Linked DNA regions of Homo sapiens: region 1 is linked to region 2. The links are contacts of gene promoters, found by promoter capture Hi-C in human tissues and cell types (Jung and others, 2019). All regions are on one chromosome and are shown on one strand. The core of a region is centred on a gene start or on the middle of the fragment in contact, and the rest is flanking DNA. Distances in the headings are between cores, read along the strand shown.

Region 1 (4,736 bases), core at 1,881-4,380, 720 kb after region 2:
CCCCACTTGGCCTGGTCCTCTCCCCTGAGAGTGGTGTCTGGCCACTCATCTTCCATCTAGGATGAGGTTCTCAAAGAGGAAACCCCCGGCTACTGCACAAAGTTCCCTGCTAGGTCACCCCACCCTATCCCCTTCCCCTCCTACTCCCATCCCATCTCCCATTTCTGGCCCATCCTTCAAGGCTCTGCACAAATGACACCTCCTTCAGGGAGCCTCCCAGATTCACACCAGTCTGAGGAGATTTCTCCAGAACCCTCAGTGCCCTGTGCTCCTTCGATCACAACAGCACTCATTCCTTGTGGTGTTTCTCAACAGTGGCACTGCTGGCATTTGGGGGAGGGTGATTTTTTTTTGTTTTTTGTTTGTTTTTTGAGAGGAAGTCTCCTTCTTGTGCCCCACGCTGGAGTGCAATGGCACGATCTCAGCACACTGCAACCTCCGCCTTCCAGGTTCAAGTGATTCTCCTGCCTCAGCCTCCCAAGTAGCTGGGATTACAGGTGTGTGCCACCACGCCCAGCTAATTTTTGTATTTTTAGTAGAGATGGGGTTTCACCATGTTGGCCAGGCTGGTCTCGAACTCCTGACCTCAGGTGATCCTCCTGCCTCGGCCTCCCAAAGTGCTGGGATTACAAGCGTGAGCCACCACGCCCAGCCAGGGGAGGGTGATTCTTTATGTCGTGGCCCTGGCCTGCCTACAGGACACTTTAGTAGGCATCCCTGACTCCCGCCCACTAAAAGCCAGGAGTGCTTAGCATCATTTTGACAACCAAAAGTCGCCCCCACACTTTCCCAAATCCCTGCCAGGAGGGTGGGACCACCCCCGGATGAGAACTAGTGCATTGTTATTAGTGACTATATTTAGCTACCAGCCCACTAGCCATATCTAAGGATGGGCAGTACTACAGACCCTGCATAGAGCTGCATCGGCAAACACTGATGTAGTGAATAAACAAAACAAAACAAACTCCTGGGCTCCTCAAGAAGCTCAGGGCAGCCTTGCCAGGGTCTCTGCTCTTGAACAGGTGCACAAAGGTTCTAAGGCCTGACATGCCTGCACTGGCTGTGTGACCCTGAGCAAGTTACTTAACTTCTCTGAGCCCTTCTATAAAATGGGGCTAAATCCTAGCAACACTGCAGGATTTCTGTAAACCTCAGTCTCCTAATCTCTACTATGGGGTTAAAATTCCCTACGTTGTAGGATTTGGTAGGCATTAAATGAGATAATGCATGTAACACATAGCACAGAATCTGGCAGGCAGCAAGAACTCAATAGATGTTAGTTTTTAATACTGTTATTATTATTATTGTCCAGGGCCAGGTGGCAGCTCATGCCTGTAATCCTAGCACTTGGGAGACTGACGTAGGCGGATCACTTGAGGTAAGGAGTTCAAGACCAGCCTGACCAACATGGTGAAACCCCTTCTCTACTAAAAATACAGAAATTAGCCAGGCATGGTGGTGGGCGCCTGTAATCCCAGCTACTGGAGAGGCTGAGGCATGAGAATCGCTTGAACCCGGGAGGCGGAGGTTGCAGTGAGCCAAGATTGTGCCACTGCACTCCACCCTGGGCAACAGAGACTCCGTCTCAAAATAAATAAATAAGTATTCTTATTATTATCCAAGTTAGGGGCTCATCAAATGATGGCTATTACTCTTCATTACAAAAATATGTTTTGCGTCCTCATCACCAATGCCTGCTTCCTCCATAGGAAGGGTGTGTGTCACCAATGCCTGCTTCCTCCATAGGAAGGGTGTATGAGCAGCAGTCTGGAAGGGGTATGTGGGGCTTGCCCTAAAGCTGCATTTGCATGGCATGCACACTATTTATTCTGAAACTGCATGTTTTTGTGGGGTGATTAGGGAAGAGGGTGGCTAACTCCCCCAAAGCCCTCCCCTTGTTGCAGCCCCCGCCTCCTCCAAGGAACAAAGGAGCTTATGGGGACATAAAGCCATCCTCTTCTCTCTCCTCTGGGGGCAGAGCTAGGGGAGGGGGAGTGGTAAATGGCAGCACAGCTCTAGGGCACCTGAAGTTTCTATCCCCTGCGTGGAGACTCCAAACACCAGGCTGGGGAAGGTAAAAGTAGCCTGTAGGGAGATGGACGCTGCAGGTCCCATCCGGAGGCCAGGTATCCCTCTCTTGCTGATAGCACTGAGACGCCCTCCCCAAAGCTCAGCCTTCTCGGGGAGATCGGAGGGGCTGAGCTGCATCCTGTCCAGCACTAAGTGAGAGTGGCCAGGAGGGCAGGCTGGCAGAGCTGTGAAAGCACCCACTTCCCCAGCTAGGCAGTGCAGGGGCTGGGGGAAAGCCAGGAAAAGCTCAAGGCTGGGTCGGGTGGCACCCCAGGCACAGAGCCCCAATGCTGAGAGGGGCTGGGTCCAGTGTCCCTGAGAGTCAGGCGGACGCCTCTCCGCATTCACAGCATACTGCAACCCCGAGGTGAATTTAGGTCAGAAGGACCAAGCCTGTGAGGCTCCGGCTGAGAGAAGAGGTGCGGTGGGGGTGGTCAAAGGGCAGACCGAAGACAGCCAAAGGTCCCCTAGGTCCCCACAACTGCTGGCCTAGGGTCCTGCCACCTGGTGTCCAAGCCACCAGGGCCTGGGTTTGCCCCGAGACAGGCAGGCTGCGGGGTGGGGGTGCTCCAAGTCCGCTGGTCCTCTCTTCCCCGGAACGCTCCAGATTTCCCCACCTGTCAAACGCGAGGGGCTGGGCCTAGGCCGCCTCCACGAACCCTGACGGACCCGGCCCCCGGTGACCCCGGTTCCAAACTCCAGGACCGCCCCTGCCACCCGGACAGGGCGCGGCCCAGCCGAGGAGGCCATCCCGAGGCCCAGGGCGCCCAGAGGACGCGGGGGAAGGGCTGTCGGGGACCGTGTCCCTCCACGTGGCGGGGCGTGGGGAGGCGCACGTGGGGTCCCTCCGTGTTGGGAGCCCCAGGCCAGCCTCCGGGCTTTGTGTGCCATGCCGGCGGCGGTCCCCCGCCTCGAGAGGGAAACGGAGCGGGCGCCCGGGGCCGCGGCGGCTGCGTCCCTTGCCCCGGGCCCGGCTACCGCCAGCTCACCTGGGCTCCGCGCCGCCGCCGCCTCCCGCGCTCTGCGCCCCCAGCTCGGCTCGGCTCGGCTCAGCTTGCTCTGCGCGGCCGCGCGCTCCTCTCCTCCGCCCGGGCGGCGGGCGCGCGGGGGGCGGGGGCGGGAGGAGCCGCCCGGCTCGGCTTGGGCGCGTCGCCGCCCCGGGCAGCGCGGGGATTGGCCACGGCGGCGGGAAACCCGAAAGCGGAACCGCCCGCGCCCGCCGCGCACCGCCCCCTGCGCGCCCCCGCCGGCTCGGCCCTGCGCCGGGGAGGGGTGGGGAGGCGGGAGCCTGCAAAGACGAAAGTAGCGAAGAGGCGAAGGGCAAGGAGCAGAAAGGGAGGAGGCGAAGAACGGGGGAAGAGAGGCCCGGCCGGGAGGATCGGAGGCGGCTGGGAGGAGAGCCTGGAGGGGCGCGGAGCGCAGGAGGTGGCGCCGCAACTTTGTACCCGCTCGCCCGCGGCGCGCACCTGCCCAGGTTCTTCCCGCGGCGCCCTCGGGCGGGCCGCGCCGGCAGCGCTTGCTTTGTTTAGCCAAATGCCGGGGCTGCAGGGCGCCTCCGGGCTGACCCTGGGAAAGTTCCCCCAAGCCGGCAAGAACACCCGGGGCCCCTCCTGTGGCGACCCGGCTGCTGCCCCTGCGCTAGGCGCCGGGCGGTGGATGCGGCCTGGACTTTGGGCCACCACCGACTCGGGGGAGCCCCCTTCCGCAGCTGCCTGCCGACTGACCACTTGCTCAGGGCCGGCCCTAAAGGCTGGGGGAAGGCGTTCCTCTCCCATCCCCAGCCCACCTGGATGCACCATTGAAGTTCATTCTGGCTTTTCCAGATGGCTACTTAGATGCTTTTTGTGAAATACAGCATATTCTTCCCATTCTCCCCTTTTTGGCACTTACTTTGCTGGAGCCTTAAGTGTGCGTTGGATCCCCCAGCTGGATAACAGCACTGTGCGGGGAAGAGGAGAAACGAAGACCTGGAGGGCTCCCTGAACCGTCCTACGGGGTCGAGCGACCCAGGGGATGTCTCACTGACCCTGCCAAACAGCCAAAAGGGAATCGAGTTGACAGGAGAGTCAACCTCCAAGTTAATAAAAGGTTCAAAGCCCTCTAGTTAACTGGGTGGATTTCCAGCCCGTTCCGATGTGCTTCTCTTGTATTTCTAGGCCGTAGGGACACTCACATGCAACGAGCCAATGAGAGCTCCACCCCGACTCCCTTTTTTTTTTTTTTTTTTTTCTTTTCTGAAACGGAGTCTCGCTCTGTCGCCCACGCTGGAGTGCAGTGACGCGATCTCGGATCACTGCAACCTCTGCCTCCCAGGTTCAAGCAGTTCTCTGCCTCAGTCTCCCGAGTAGCTGGGATTACAGGCGCCGGCCACCATACTTGGCTAATTTTTGTATTTTTCGTAGAGATGGGGTTTCACCATGTTGTCCAGGCTAATCTTGAATTCCTGACCTCGTGATCCACCCGCCTTGGCCTCCGAAAGTGCTGGGATTACAGGTGTGAGTCACCGCGCCCGGCCCACTCCCATTTTTTTTTCTTTGTTTTTTTTGTTTGTTTGTTTGTTTGTTTGTTTGTTTGTTTTGAGACAGGGTCTCTCTGTGTTGCCCAGGCTGGAGTGCAGTAGCACGATCACGGCTCGCTGCACCCTCGACCTCCCCAGGCTCAGGTGA
Region 2 (4,663 bases), core at 988-3,487:
ACTGAGTACTCCATTTCAAGTGGGTAATGTCTGCTGGTTGGCAGCTATCCAGTTTGGAAAACTGTGGAAGATGCTGTTGCTACCCAGATTGTTCTGTTCAACAAGTGGGCCTGAAGCCTGAGCAGTGTAGCCAGCTGTGTGGGGAGCAGAGGTTCACTCCATTGCTTCTGCAGCCTCCTCACCTGACTCCTCCTCCTCCTCTAATAAGCAGCTTCTTGTCACAGACTTCTGGATAGCTTCCCGCTCTCCTGGAGAAGGCAGATAACAGGGATGAAAGATATCTTTGGGAGTGATTTCTTCAGCTTAAGGTCAGTCACTGCTCAGTGGGCACTGGGCTAGTGTTGCTTACCTTCATCAGTGCAGTTCTGCAACAAGATCAACAGCTGTCTCCTGTTGTACTGAATTAGGAACTTCTGACATGTTCTTATTGTACCTGGCATATGAGTTACTGTGGTCAACAGCTTGTGAAAGATCTCGACCTTACAGACTTTCAGAGGTAGGGGGAAGTGTCTTGTTAGCGGGACAGCAGCAAGACCCACCCACCAGTTTAGACTGAACTGTGAACGTGTCACCAATTGAAAATCAGTAGCCATACCACCTCACTCCTACCTCCCACATGTAATGTGTTGAAAAAGCATGGGTAACGGTGTCCTTTGTTCTCCAAGTATGTGATGAAGGGAAGAGCTGACCACACAAGCTGATAGAATTCTTTTCTGCATCGAAGTAGCACTATTCCAGTATAGGCATTGAGATATCGAACTACAACAGGAAAGAAAAATCATTTTGGAAAACTTTTGCTCTGTGTGGTGGCTCACGCCTGTAATCCCAGCACTTTGGGAGGCTGAGGCGGGCAGATCACTTTAAGTCAGGAGTTCGAGGCCAGCCTGGCCAACATGATGAAACCCCGTCTCTACTAAAAATACAAAAATTAGCTGGGTGTGGTGGTGCGCACCTGTAATTCCAGCCACTCAGGAGGCTGAGGCATGAGAATCGCCTGAACCCAGGAGGCAGAGGCAGCAATGACCCCCGATCTCGCTGCTGCACTCCAGCAGCCTGGGCAACAGCCAGACTGTCTCGAAAAAAGGAAAACTTTGGAGTAACAGAGCCTACTATGTGCCAAAAGTATGTTGTAGGCAAGTGGCACGTAGATCTATCAGCGAGTAAAAGAGAAAAGCCAAAACACCCACTGTGTTGCACACCACTCAGAACTGGTGAATGAATTTAGAATTGAAAATGCTTTCTAATTCACTAGTTAATTCAATAAATAGGAGCAGGTAGGAGGCGATCCGTTTTAATTTAGGAAAAACCCCCACAAAACCCTTGCCTGAAAAACAGGCTGTTTTACTGCATTTGGGCTCCGTAATTATTGTAGCAGTCAGCTCTCAGTCTCACCTGACTTAGGAGAGTTAAGTCTATCTGCATTTAACTCTCCAGAAGTCAATCTCAAACAAGGTTAAAGTGGGAACTAATTTAAGTGGTGTGAAAGAAGGGCCCCTCTGTCCTAGCTCATCCTGTATTTACATATATTGACAATCATGTGTTCTGTACTTTACCAACTATTTAAGGGCTTTCCCGGAGTACTTTTGACAATTTTTTTCCATATGATGTTAATGTAATCGGTCATATAATAGCTCTTACTAGGAAGTATACACAGCTTCCCTCATTTAATTCTCTACCCTATCAAATTCAATCACAACCAATTACAGAAATTACCTGTCAAGCAGGTAAAAAGAGGCTTCTAGCTCAAAGCCCCACTGCCTTCGGGCCCCTCCTTTTAGCGCTCTGCTAATTTCGGACTCTCGCTTGGGGTCCCAGGCGCTTAAAGAGATACCTTACAAAAAACGGTGCACGGGCTTGGCCACTCGTGCCCCTTCTTTCTTCCTCCGGCGCCTGCCCCCTCCACATCCCGCCATCCTCCCGGGTTCCCCTCTTCCCCCAGCGCCCTTGCACCCGCGAAGCCGATGGAGCAGGCGGCTGCGCCGAAAGTTCCGTGCACCCTGGCGATCGTGTCCCGTACGAGGCTGCTCAGAACTCGGTCATCGAGGCTTAGGCGGCAGCGGGGGTCGTCAGACACCAGTTCGCAGAGCAGGTACCTGCGGCAGGCGAGAGGAAGGTGGACACTAGCGGGGCCGCGAGGACCCAGCAAGGCACTGGGAGGGTCTGGAAGGGAATGCTTACCTGTGCTTGAACCGCACCATGGCTGCCTCCGCGCTCTCCGGTCCGGCGTGCAAACCGGATGTGAATTCTGTCCGCTGCCAATGGGAAGCTTGCTTCCGCAGCCTTTCAGCCATTCAGAGAAGGAGACAGGATATTAGGGCGGAGCTAGAAAGTTGAGAGGCCGAAGTCTGTCAGCTCTCTCAAGCCCCGCCCAACTGCGTTTGTAAGCGCGCATGCGTCCTGCGGAGGGTCACTGACTAGTTTGAGGGCTGAACCCCGGGATGGAGCGCCTTGCAGCTGTAATGGATGGTTCTGTTGCACACTGAAGTTTACAATAGTGTGTAGGATGTAGCCGCTACCCTTGGGGCCCTGGGAACCTTGCACCACAGTTATGTATGCGAGTATATTCTCTCCCCAAGGTGAACGGTGGAGCTTTTGAGGGCAAGACCCTGCACCTCACAGCCCAGGCATTGACAAACGGGAAATCGGACTTTTATTTTCAGGTTTGAGCTCAGTTTAATTCTTCCATACAGCTAAATATGCTATTGCTGTTTGGGCCTTTCAGCAATCTTAGGGAGGCGAGTGTGCCGTCTCGTTTTTTGCTCGCAGAAACAATACGTGGTCATTGTATTTTCCATTTCCGTTTACCTTTTTTTTTTGACAGAAAAGCACAAAGAAGCAAATAAATTATAATCCCAGCACTGAGAGAGAATAACTGTTGTCGTGTAGTGTGTTTTCTTCTGTCATTTTCTCCCTGCGCCAGTGGTTCTCAAAGTGCCGTCTGGGGACCACTGAGATTTCCTAAATTCACTCGATTTGGGAGTCCCCGAAGTCAAAATTACTTTCATAATAATGCTAAGATGTTACTTGTCTTTTTCATTCTCTCTGAGTGAACAGTCAAGTTTTCCAGAGGCTGCTTGACGTGATGACGTCACTGCTCTAGGAATTGTGTATTGTTTTTTAAACGTTTCTCAACTTTAATGTCCATAGTAAATATAACCCACAAAACTAAAAGCTCTTGGGCACCCTCAGTAACGTGTGTAAAGGGGTCCTGAGACAGAGAAAACAGCTTGAGAACTATGCCCTCTGTTAAATTATGTTTTTTCTTTTATTTTTAAGTATTTTAAAAAAAATGTCTTATGGGGTATTACATAAAGTACATATTCTTAAGTGTATTCATCTCAATGAATTTTTACATATGGATAGACTTCTATAACCACCTCCAAGATTAAAATAAAGAGCATTTCCAGTATCCCAGAAGGTTCCCTGAGCCCTCTTCCAGTCAAATTGCTTACTGCTATCAGCCACTATTACCACTTCTACCCTGCTAGATTAATTTTGCCTGTTCTTAAACTTTATATAAATGCAGCCAGGAGGCTGGCTGCAACCTCTGCCTCCTGAGTTCAAGCGATTCTCCTGCCTCAGCCTCCCGAGTAGCTGGGATTACAGGCACCTGCCACCACGACCAGCTAATTTTTGTATTTATTTATTTAGTTTTTTGAGACGGAGTCTCACTCTGTTGCCCAAGCTGGAGCACGATCTCAGCTCACTGCAACCTCTGCCTCCTGGATTCAGGCGATTCTCCTGCCTCAGCCTCCCAAGTAGCTGGGACTACAGGTGTGTGCCACCACAACTGGCTAATTTTTGTATTTTTAGTAGGGACAGGGTTTCCCCATGTTGGCCAGGCTGGTCTTGAACTCCTGACCTCAGGTGATCCACCCACCTCGGCCTCCCAAAGTGCTGGGATTACAGGCGTGAGCTACCACGCCTGGCCATTTGGCTATATTTTCATGTCAGCTCTTCAGCGACAATACTGTTTTTTAGCTGTGCAGTATTGCATTGTTTGGACGTACCATTGTGAAGTTGGTCAGTATCCCTTTGGTAGACGTTTACATTATTTCTAGATTTTCTTGTTATACCCAATACTTTGATGCATGGCTTTGTAGCTTAGTCTTTATGCCCATCCCTGATTATTTGTAGAAGTGTCTTGGCCTTGGCTGGTCCTGTGAGGTCCGTAATGGGGGCAGCTTTCACAACCTATTTTTGCAAGATCTGGAATGAGTTCTGAATTTTCCCATCTCCCACTCTTCTTGGCCACCTTAAAGGAGGGATGTGGGGGAAGGTAGGGAAGAAAAGAATAGGAAGAGGGAACGCCGTGGCCCTGCCAAGGGACCAGTGACAGTGACGGCACTCCCCACCCAAGAACAACTTTTCACCAGAAAGTGTCTGCGACATCCTCCTTTGGCCAACAGGGGGCGCCAGAGGTCCGCAGTGCGCGGAGAGAGCAAGACACCCCCAACTCCTGAGCGCTCCACCCCTCATAGAAATTTCACTCCTCCCAGCCTTCATTTCAACAGCAATGCTTCGCCCATTTTATAGATGCAGTTGGGGCTCAGACCAAAGCCTCGTATCCAGTTAGGAGCAGGATCAGAATTCGAACCCAAAGCCAGCTGACTCCTTGTTCTGGTCAACACGGTTGGTGCTCTCCCGTGCAGGATTTCACTCG

The links. The method cuts DNA at HindIII sites, captures the fragments that hold promoters and counts their contacts. A contact is called where the count stands out against the background at its distance.
Region 1: a contact is called between the fragment with the promoter of CAMKK2 here and the fragment with the promoter of POP5 in region 2, in 1 of the 25 tissues and cell types used here (spleen).

The regions. Positions count from the first base shown.
Region 1 is chr12:121,293,579-121,298,314 of GRCh38, forward strand. It overlaps CAMKK2 (calcium/calmodulin dependent protein kinase kinase 2), which reads right to left and starts at 3,131. Exons shown (of 17, transcript NM_001270485.2): 1 at 3,060-3,131. RefSeq lists a silencer at 2,667-3,816. The HindIII fragment of the contact is 15,221 bases long and covers 1-4,736 here.
Region 2 is chr12:120,579,165-120,583,827 of GRCh38, forward strand. POP5 (POP5 ribonuclease P/MRP subunit) reads right to left here and starts at 2,238. Exons shown (of 5, transcript NM_015918.4): 1 at 2,179-2,238; 2 at 1,951-2,093; 3 at 610-759; 4 at 350-433; 5 at 1-248. The coding sequence starts at 2,198. The coding sequence ends at 154. The HindIII fragment of the contact is 9,700 bases long and covers 1-4,663 here.